Linked DNA regions of Homo sapiens: all the other regions are linked to region 3. The links are contacts of gene promoters, found by promoter capture Hi-C in blood cells and fetal thymus (Javierre and others, 2016). All regions are on one chromosome and are shown on one strand. Each heading gives the region's core, a stretch centred on a gene start or on the middle of the fragment in contact. The rest is flanking DNA. Distances are from core to core; before and after follow the strand shown. Region 1 overlaps ABCA10 (ATP binding cassette subfamily A member 10). Region 2 has its middle 160 kb from the start of LINC01482. Region 3 holds the start of ABCA8 (ATP binding cassette subfamily A member 8).

Region 1 (3,847 bases), core at 4-2,503, 240 kb after region 3:
GGGGCTGCCCCCCACCTCCTGGAGGGGGCGGCTGCCGGGCGGAGATGCTCCTCACTTCCCAGACGGGGTGGCTGCCGGGCAGAGGGGCTCCTCACTTCTCAGACGGGGCGGCCGGGCAGAGACGCTCCTCATCTCCCAGACAGGGTGGCGGTCGGGCAGAGACACTCCTCAGTTCCCAGACGGGGTCGCGGCCGGGCAGGGGCGCTCCTCACATCCCAGATGATGGGCGGCGGGGCAGAGGCGCTCCCCACATCTCAGACGATGGGCGGCGGGGCAGAGACGCTCCTCACTTCCTAGACGGGATGGTAGCCGGGAAGAGGCGCTCCTCACTTCCCAGACTGGGAGGCCGGGCAGAGGGGCTCCTCACATCCCAGACGATGGGCAGCCAGGCAGAGACGCTCCTCGCTTCCCAGATGGGGTGGCGGCCGGGCAGAGGCTGCAATCTCGGCACTTTGGGAGGCCAAGGCAGGCGGCTGGGAGGTGGAGGTTGTAGCGAGCCAAGATCACGCCACTGCACTCCAGCCTGGGCAACACTGAGCACTGAGTGAGCGAGACTCCGTCTGCAATCCCAGCACCTCGCGAGGCTGAGGCTAGCAGATCACTCGCGGTTAGGAGCTGGAGACCAGCCCGGCCAACACGGCAAAACCCCGTCTCCACCAAAAAAATACGAAAACCAGTCAGGCGTGGCAGCACGCGCCTGCAATCCCAGGCACTCGGCAGGCACTCGGCAGGAGAATCAGGCAGGGAGGTTGCAGTGAGCCGAGATGGCGGCACTACAGTCCAGCCTCCGCTTGGCATCAGAGGGAGACCGTGGACAGAGGGAGGGGGAGGGGGAGAGGGAGAGGGAGAGGGAGAGGGAGTTTTTCTTTTTACCTTGCAATGCTTCTACTTTTCCAGTCTTTCCATTATATTCTTTTATAACATTTCTGATTCTGAAAGAAGATGAAGTAATTTTCATGTAAATGCATTTTCTAGTATTAATAACACAGATTACAGTTCATAACTAAGCCTGAACTTCACAGTAAAGGGTATCACTCTCAGTGGGATGTAAGGAGGGCAGTAATAAAAGCCCTCCCCTGACCACTCCCAAAAGAGATTTACACAGACCTGCTAATACTCTTATCAAACTTGGCATTTCATATATTCCAGCTATTTCTCTAAGTTATCAAATAAATAAGGGAAAGCTAAAATTGAAAAAAAAAAGAAGGAAAGAAGGAAGGGAGCGAAAGAAAAAAGGGAGAGAGGCTTTCCCTCAATCCTGAATCCCTCTCAATCATTATCTTTCACAGGCAAATTTGTCAAAATAATAATCTTTACTCCCTATTTCCATTGCTTTATCCCACATTTATTTCCCAACCTAAGACAACATAGCTTCTCACTATACTACTCCACAAAAAACTATTCCCAATGAAATTCACCAATGACCATTCTAGTTACCAAATCTAATGAACACTTTTTAGTCCTTATTTGATATACTTCATCACTGTTTTAAACTATTACTCACTCTTTTGTTTTCTTAAGTCTCTAACTCCCTGGCTTCTACACTTTGGTTCCACATCTTCCTCTTACTATTCCGTTTTGGCGTACTTTATGGACTCCTTAAATTGGATTTTATACTTGGCCAACTATTTTTCTTATTCTCAAACCTTTGCCATACAATCTTACCCACTCTCATGGCTTCAACTCCTACCTAAATTCTAATGATTCCCAAATTTGTGTTTTAGAGATTTCTTCAAAGTTTCAGATATTCTGCTTTTTACTATATATCTACACTTGGATATCAAACTGAACGCATTATATTTTCCTCTAAACTGGCCCACTTCCATTCTCTATCTCAGTTAGAATTTCTACTATCTACCCAGGAACTCAAGCTAAGAGCCTGAGAGGCATCCTTAACTCTCTCTCTCTCCCTTTTTCACCCCATCCTGTGACCTACAAAATTATTACAATTTAACTTCAAGAATTTATGAATTTAACTTTATAAATCTATTTGAATTTATCTCTTTACTACTTTTCTTGTGCCTTCTTGCCCAGGCTCTTGTCATCTTTCACCTCAACCAGGGCTATGACCTCTGTGCTTTATTTTTAATTGTCCCTTGTCTATCAGCAACAGTCTCTTTCCTTCTGCAATGCGGAGGACATATCAGAGACTACATTTCACGGAACCCTCTTTTCAGTATCAGATTTTGCTAATGAGAAGAACTTGGGCAAGATTTGGAGAGCAGAAATGAAGCAAGGTCATTATTCTCGGGTCACGTGAGCCAAGCATATACGCAGGCTCGAGGTTTGCAGCAGCTTCTCAGACTTCTTGACAAGGACTGCTTTGCTACTGCAGATTGAGATAACTGGTGAGAGATTTCCCAGAAAATCCCTGACATTTGCAGCAGTATACTGACAAACTTCTTGAAAAACACCCATTTCTGTGCATCAGGCTAAGGTCCTCAGTGGCTATTTCCTGACTTTCTGGTTGTAACTTAACCTTCTCTCCTCTAACTCTTGTACATTTGTGAATCCCTAATCCCTGTATTAAACTCCTTTACTCCCACAATATTTCCAGCAACTCACTTTTCCTGACCAGACCTAGACTGGTAAAATATCGTAAATATTTCCATTTCTCCAGTTGTGTCACCCTCAAATCCATTCTTCATAAAGCTGCCAAAGTGATCTATCAAAGTTCTGGTTACCTAATTTGCCTCCTTAAAATCATTCAGTGATTCCCCACACTATACAGGATAGCCTAATCTCCTTACCTTGGCAAGCAAAATCTTCCATGATCAGATTTGGTGCCTACCTCTTAAAGTTAACCTCTCTCTTTTCTTGTACTTTAAGGTCAGAAATGTTAGTTCCTTGTGTTCCCTATACATACACACTGTGTCTTGCTCTACTAGGTGGCTTATGCCATATCCCCTGTGTGGAAGGACCTTCACATACCCCACCATACTTTATATGACCAAGACCTTTCTCTTTCATAAGACTCACCTTAAGAGTCACCTCCTTTTGACTTTCCCCACTACACTACACTAGGTTGGATGATCCTTCTTTATTTCTTTTAATTCTCTGTGTTCAGCTCTACTACTTATCAGTTATCTATTTTAGTATCTATTTCCTTAGACTCTGTACTTCCTGAGGTTAAAGACTATCATTAATCTCTGTATCCTAATTCTAGCAGAGGGACTGATTAATGATGAATAAGTTAAAAAAGTAATTAATTTGTCAATAGGAACAGTCTGGTCCAGAATGATCAAAGAGTTCCTGGTTTCAGGCATGTTAGGCCACTTCCTATAGGATGTTCCCTCTATCTCTAGGTACATATAGAGGGAATATCAAGGTGGATGACACTGTATGCAGGTTTAGACAGGCTAGAACTGTCACAATTATCTGAGAGTACACTCAATTCATATTAATGTCATAAGGGCAAATTAGACCCAAGACCACTGAATAGGATGACTAGCATCAACCACTTAGGAGACCTAAATAACCGCTCTTCATACCATACAACAACACCCATCTCCATTGTTCACTGGATTAATATGGATCAAACTCATGATCCTGGGCATTTATTGAACCATGTCCTAAAAGACGAGCTTTCGGCCTGACAAAAGAGGAAATAATATAATTTAGTCCTAATTTAATTTGTTATGTGCAACAATACTAAATTTTCTGTTGTCAACGTAATTTCTATAAGAATTAATACCAAAGAAAGTGATAAACTATAGCTACAGAATAGCTATAAAAGTTTTCATGCAGGAGATAGGACTTGAAAGACTACTAAAAATTATAGAATTTGAGAAATTTCCTCAACTCCAGGGAATAGAGAACTTTCACCTTGATCTTTTCATATTAGGTT
Region 2 (3,399 bases), core at 624-3,123, 160 kb before region 3:
ATATGGATTCCCATTTTCCCAGCACCATTTATTGAAGAGACCGTCTCTTCTCCAGTGTATGTTCTTGGCACCTTTGGTGGAAATGAGTTCACTGTATGTGTGTAGATTTGTTTCTGGGTCCTCTATTCTGTTCCATTGGTCTATGAGTCTGTTTTTATGTCAGTACCATGCCATTTGGGTTACTATAGCTCTGTAGTATAATTTGAAGTCAGGTAATGTGATTCCTCCAGTTTTTTTTTTCTGTTGGCTTAGAATAGCTTTCGTTATTCTGGGCCATTTTTGGTTTCATATAAATTTTAGGATGTTTTTTATTTCTGTGAAGAATGTTATTGGTATTTTGATGGGGATTGCATTGAATCTGTAGATTTCTTTGAGTAACAACAGTGTTCTTTAACAACACTGATTCTTCCAATCCATGAAAATGGAATCTTTTTCCATTTTTTTGTTTCCTCTTCAGTTTCTTTCATCAGTGTTTTATAGTTTTCATTATAGAGATCCTTCACTTCTTTGGTTAAGTTAATTCCTAGGTATTTAATTTTATTTTAGCCCCCCACTCTTGAGGAGATGGGGAAGGATCCTGTCACTGGCCACATGGGAAATGCAGAGTTTGTAGTGAGAGGTTTCCCCTTTTCCCTCCCCTCACTACATCCAAGAATGGGAGAGGGAGAGAGTTTCCAAGAGAATCTGTAATAAAGATGATAGGGAGGGTGATGCCCAGAAGGGAGCACTTGCCTTCCTTTCCTTAACTGGATTTCTGCTTAGACACTGCATTTGCTGATCTGTTCCTAAGGAAGAAGAGGATTAGAACAAACTGGTAGGGTGGGGAGAGGCATGAGGGAAGAGCAGCTGTACTCCCATCCATTTTGTGCCAAGGGTCTGCAGTGTTTCCACAGGTCATGTGGTGGGCCACCAAGGAAGTCAACTGGGCTTGCACCATCTTGACTCCCACAAGAGCTGTCCTTAGGATGAGGGGTTGCCAGTAGCAAGAGGCCGTGGGATGCACGGATTGCTAATGGCAGAAACTGGGCTGGAAGTTCTATCTCTTATGTTAGGAAATTGGGCAGTGGGGAGGGCCCTACAGGAAACTCACATAGGTTTCAAAAGTGAATCAGATTTTGGAAACTTGCCTCTCAGACAGCAATGAGGCCCGGTCAATGCTGGTAAGAGATGTGTTCACAGTTAACTGAGTGAGGTCTGCAGCAGCAAGGTGGTTAAGTAGAGACATCCCCATCCATCTCAGACCTTCACCTTGATTAGCCAACATCCTAGTTCAGCTCTGTGTTTGGGGTTGAGGATTTGAAAGTTTGTGAAAGGAAATGATAAATGACTAGAGGGGCTCGTATTCAAAGGTGGGAATAAGGGTAACAAGGGATGAGAAACTGGAAAGGGGAAGGCTGTGGCAGACCCAGGGCACCATCATACGGCACAGACTCGGACACCCACTGTGGGTTGAGTCAGGGCAGACTCATCTGGTTTGCTTGGAACTTTTTCAGTTTTAAAAGTTAAAGTCCTTTGTTCTGGGAACCTCTTCAGTCTTGGACCACCCCGCACAGTTGATCGCTCAATCTGCCAGGAATCCTAGAGTGACCTCTGGCAGAGATAGTTATATTACTCCTATCTGACATCTCAACAGCTCAAAATGGGCCAGAGCCATCAGCTTATGTAACATTAACGTGTGGACCACTGGACTCTAAGCTGCAATGTGGATCATTAAGAGATAAGAGGAAGTATTTTTTGGCTATCGCTTTCAAAAGTCTAAAAATATATTAACAGCTGCAAGAAATCAGCATCTAAAGAACTTAAAAACAGAACTATTAATACCATTCAACCCAGTGATCCCATTACTGGGTACATACCCAGAGGAAAATAAATACTTCTGGCAAAAAGACTCATGCATTTGTACATTCATCACAGCACTATTCACAACTGCAAAGACATGGAATCAACCTAGGTGCCCATCCACGGTGGACTGGCTAAAGAAAATGTGGTACATGTACACCATGGAATGCTATGCAGCCATAAAAAGAATGAAATCATGTCCTTTGCAGCACCATGGATGCATCCAGAGGCCGCTATCCTAAGCAAACTAATGCAGGAACAGAAAACAAAATGCCACATGTTCTCACTTATAAGTGGGAGCTAAACACTGGATGTACACATGGATGCGAAGATGGAAATGATAGATACTGGAGACTCTAAAAGTGGGGAGGGAGGAAGGGGAAAGGGCTGAAAACCTAGCTGTTGGGTACTATGCTCACCACCCGCATGACGGGATCAATCATACCCCAAACTTCAGCATTACACAATATGCCAACATAAGAAACCTACACATGTCCTCCCTAAATCTAAACTAAAAGTCACATCCACGTAAGATGTCCAGGTTAGAAGAAATGTGCAAAACACTAAATTCCAAGCTCAGCAGAAAGATTCTGGTAACAAGGTGCATAGCCAATGCACTCACTTCAGTTGCTGGGCAGTTTCTTGAGCTAGTCCTCACATTCTGAGTAAGGCATCTCATTTGTTACCCTTGATTAATATTTTTGAGAATCAAATGAGGCATTGAACAACACTAAATGCTCTACAAGGCATTAAGAAAGCCAAAAGCCCTTGACATTTTTTTTCTATTCTTTCTCCCTCATTTCAAAACAAGACGTTAATATCACTCCAAGTTTATTGCGTAACGTAAGGGAGTGGGGGAAAACATAATGATTTCAGGAAAAGAAAGGATCTGCAATTGTTATACAATGAGGGGCAAAAGAAGCAAGAGAACAAATGATGAAATCTAATTATGCAGGGTGTTTCATCATTTTCAAAAATTGTTTTATATTTCACACAGAACTACAAGGAGAAAGGGTAAAAAAAAAAAAGTACTGGGTAAGGAAAAAGGAAAAGAGAGAAAGAGACTCCATAAGACCTCTAGTGCCTCATCTATCTGGAATTTGAATATATGGCAGTTGGGATTATCAGTATAAACAGGAATAAGAATCAAGCCAAAATTATTTTGCCATATTCCATGTGGTTATAAATAACAGTAAGTGGCTAATTTTGTATGGTTATTTCTGTAAGCCCTGTAAAGAGAAGGCTTTCATTTGTAAATGGAAGGTTTTGAGGATTGAGTTTCCCTGTTGTTTTGTGGTTTACAAACTCCTAGACACATTTATCTACATGGCAAACCTTGAAAGAAGACCAAAATTTTAGCTATACTCTTTACCATCATTTTCTTCTCATAAACTGGAGCTGACAAAAAGAAATTGACACTATACACGTTGCTATTTTTTCTGCATACTGATTCTCAGGCTTGGAGTTAATTTTTGCAGGGTAACCTTGGACTGTTTGTTTTATTTCATCTTTCTACTTCTCTCAGCTTTTACTAACTCCGGTCACACCAAAAACAAACAA
Region 3 (3,486 bases), core at 538-3,037:
GAGAGCCCATGGAAGGAGAAGAGGGAAAGACAGTTCCAAGAGTAAAGCAGCCTAGGTTAAGGTGCAGAAAATTCAGCATGGATACTTTTAAGAGAGCTGTGCAAGGCTCTCCTTACCTAAAATCACACTCCGTATACAGACATACCCACAAACAATCACATCATGTTCTTTGCTCAAGATTGAACTTGCTGAAACTGTGATGTGCTACTACTCCTACCGGGGGTAGAGGGTAGTCTGCTGCTGTACTTCTCCTCTCTGGTTACTGATGCAATTATCTATAGAAGTATAATGCCGCTCTCTGTAAGCAATTTTAGGTAAAATCCATGGGATATTTTCACAGTGAGCTAGCCTACAGAGAGGGCAAAAGTTTCTGGGTTCTTAAAGCAGCTGCCGCCAATGCAAGCTCTGTACAGGAGGAATTTCTTTTTTTTTTTTCGTTTTATTATTATACTTTAAGTTTTAGGGTACATGTACACATTGTGCAGGTTAGTTACATATGTATACATGTGCCACGCTGGTGCGCTGCACCCACTAACTCGTCATCTAGCATTAGGTATATCTCCCAATGCTATCCCTCCCCCCTCCCCCCACCCCACAACAGTCCCCAGAGTGTGATGTTTCCCTACACTCCACCTCATGCACAAGCCCAAATATATCACAGCTTCTCTACAGAAATGCATAATTCACTGGCGAAGTTAATAGACATTGGCCAAGAGGATGATCTCCTCACTATGGAATCAGCTACAGTCTTAGGTAGCATGCAAACTCCAGTCTGACTCCAATCCCTTATATCTTCCATCGTAAAGTATTATTGCCAACTTTGTTTCTTTCCAATTTTTGTATGTTCTGCAGTTTATGTAAAGGCTAGCAAAAACATGAATACTTTATTATACATATGGCAAATAGTCTCAAATTGTAATGACTCATTTTTATCCTCTTATACTGTTGTAAAATTCAGAACAACATGTATTCACTATAGGAGTATGAAAATTCTTTTTACCAATGTACATTTTAAATAACATTGTGGTAAAGAGAAGCTACATATTTCACATTCTGATTCAACTCACTGTATCCAACGAGTAAAAGATCCTAGAAAGAATCTTACATTTCTAAAATTCTTATAGACTAAGAGTGAGCGATAGGAACAATAAAAATATTTCTGTAAGTGCTCTTGGTAAACAGTCTTAAAGTCAGAAGAACACTTATCCAAAATGCCCTACATTATTGTGCAATCAAAGTAGATAACTTTAACTTCAAAAACAACTCAGTCTTCCAACCCAATTCTTAAAACTCTAAGCTCTTCACAAAAAATTTTTAGCCAATTTAAACTTATTTCTACACTCAGTTATGTTTAAAACAACATAATGTTTGCATAATTTTTTAAAAAACATTCTAACTCAATGTTTTTATTTATCTAATATTAATTACCAGATATAAAATCTTTAAAGTAGCCCAATATTTTTCAAAATAATTTCTGCATAGATGATTGTCATTCAGTTTATAAAGGTTTATTTATAATTTTGTGATAGGAATAAGAAAAGACAAAACCTCTGAAACAAACTCACACACAAAAGCAAAATACAAAACAAAACAGAAAAAATACAGTGAACTTACTTCTGGGAAAATGGAAGCAAGGAATCTAGAGGTATGGTTTATCCACTGAGCTCCTTGTTTAGAAGAAAGTTATTCATATTTTCTCCTGGTCTCTACCATGTATCTAGAATTTGCTTTAACTATTTGACTTCTGTGAAAAGTTTCTGTGAAGACTGCTTTCAGAGTGGAGGTTATGATCTCAATTCTGTTGGCCCTGCCAAACATCACATTCACGTCATCATGCTTGGACTGTTTGTCTTCTCATTGATATTCGGCCAGTTCCTGCAGAGCAGTGGCATTTATACTGGGTTGCCTGGCTATATCATATTATAGGGAGCAATTTCTCTTTTACGTCCAAGATTATTGTGGCTAATACCAAAATTTAAAGTGCTGTCTTTAAGCCATGAGAAAGTAAACAGCTTAATCAGAGAAAAGCTCTTCTCTCTACCCAGAGCTCTAGTCTGCTTAATTGACAGCTTTACCTAGATAATCAAAATTTTCATTCCTCTGCTTCCCAGCTTCATTTTCACTCAGTTCAGACTATTTTCCAATTTATTTGACCCACGGATTAATCAGAAATGTGCTTAATTTCCAAGTGTCTGAAGATTTTCTTATCTTTTGGTTATTGATTTAATTTTAAATCAGAAGTTCAATTATACTCAGAAAAAATATTTTGTATGTCAAATTTGTTAAGGCTTATTTGATGACCCAGGATATGATCTATCTTGGCAGATATTCCATAGGCACTTGAAAAGTTGTATAGTTTTTTGGTGTTGAGTGGAATATTATATAATATCTATTACATTTAGTTGGTTGATGATATTGTTCAGTTTTTTCTATATTTTTCCTAATTTTCTGTCTCCTAGTTCTGTTGATTACTAAGAGAGGAATGTTGAAGATTTTAACAAAACTTAGGGACTTTCAAATTTCTCCCTTTAAAACTATCATGTTTTGCCTGATGTATTTTGCAACATTTGGAATTGTTATGTCTTCTTGGTGAATTGACCCTTTTATCATTATGTAATGTTAATCTTTATCTCTAGTAACTTTTGTGTTCTAAAGTCTACTTTGTTTCATATTAATAATATAGCCATTCTTACTTTCCTGTGATTATTGTTTTCGTGGTATTTTGTTTTCATCCGTTTATTTTTATCTACACACACACACACACACACACACACTATATGCTTTCAGAGTGGCAGTTATGATCTCAATTCTGTTGGCCCTGCCAAACATCACATTCATATTATATGTGTATGCGTGTGTGTGTATGTGTGTGTGTGCGTCTGTGTTTGTTATTATTTTTTTAAGATGATGGTCTTGCTATGTTGCCAAGGCTGGACTTGAACTCCTGGGTTCAAGTGATCTTCCCATCTCAGACTCCTGAGTAGCTGAAACTACAGATACATGCCACTATACCCAGCTCTAAATTGTATTTCAAGTGAGTTTCTTGTAGATGGCATATAATAGAGTCATGAGTTTGGTTTTTAAAATCCAATTTGACAATGCACATCTTTTAATGGGTGTGTTTAAATTATTTTCATTTTATGTAGCTATTGATTTTTAAAATCAGATCTGCCATTTTGTTATTTGCTTCTTTTCTCTCTGGTTTTAATTCTCCTATTTCCCATTTTCTGCTTTCTTGTTGGTTATTTGAAATTATTTTTTGGTATTGCATTTCAACGTATCTATTATGTTTCTTAACTGTATCTATTTGTATAGTTATTTTAGTGGTCACTCTCAGGATTACAAAAGACATACTTAACTTGACATGCTTTACCCAGAATTAATATTTCTTCATTTTAAGTGAAATATATAAACCTTACTATGATATACAGACAAAATAGGAAGGAGGTCAACAAGGGTGCTGCTCAGTAACTATATAACCAGAAG

The links. Contacts are between HindIII fragments. The CHiCAGO score rates a contact against its expected background, and 5 or more counts as called.
Region 1: a contact is called between a fragment that was not itself captured here and the fragment with the promoter of ABCA8 in region 3, in 1 of 17 cell types (erythroblasts). The highest score is 5.3, in erythroblasts.
Region 2: a contact is called between a fragment that was not itself captured here and the fragment with the promoter of ABCA8 in region 3, in 1 of 17 cell types (M2 macrophages). The highest score is 6.3, in M2 macrophages.

Annotation. Positions count from the first base shown.
Region 1 is chr17:69,196,191-69,200,037 of GRCh38, forward strand. ABCA10 (ATP binding cassette subfamily A member 10) reads right to left here. Exons shown (of 39, transcript NM_001377321.1): 11 at 874-932. Among named protein-coding and RNA genes, the nearest start is that of ABCA10, 31 kb to the right of the region's middle. The HindIII fragment of the contact is 5,558 bases long and covers 1-3,847 here.
Region 2 is chr17:68,789,565-68,792,963 of GRCh38, forward strand. No RefSeq gene overlaps it. Among named protein-coding and RNA genes, the nearest start is that of LINC01482, 160 kb to the left of the region's middle. The HindIII fragment of the contact is 8,140 bases long and covers 1-3,399 here.
Region 3 is chr17:68,953,605-68,957,090 of GRCh38, forward strand. It overlaps ABCA8 (ATP binding cassette subfamily A member 8), which reads right to left and starts at 1,788. Exons shown (of 40, transcript NM_001288985.2): 1 at 1,615-1,788. The HindIII fragment of the contact is 10,640 bases long and covers 1-3,486 here.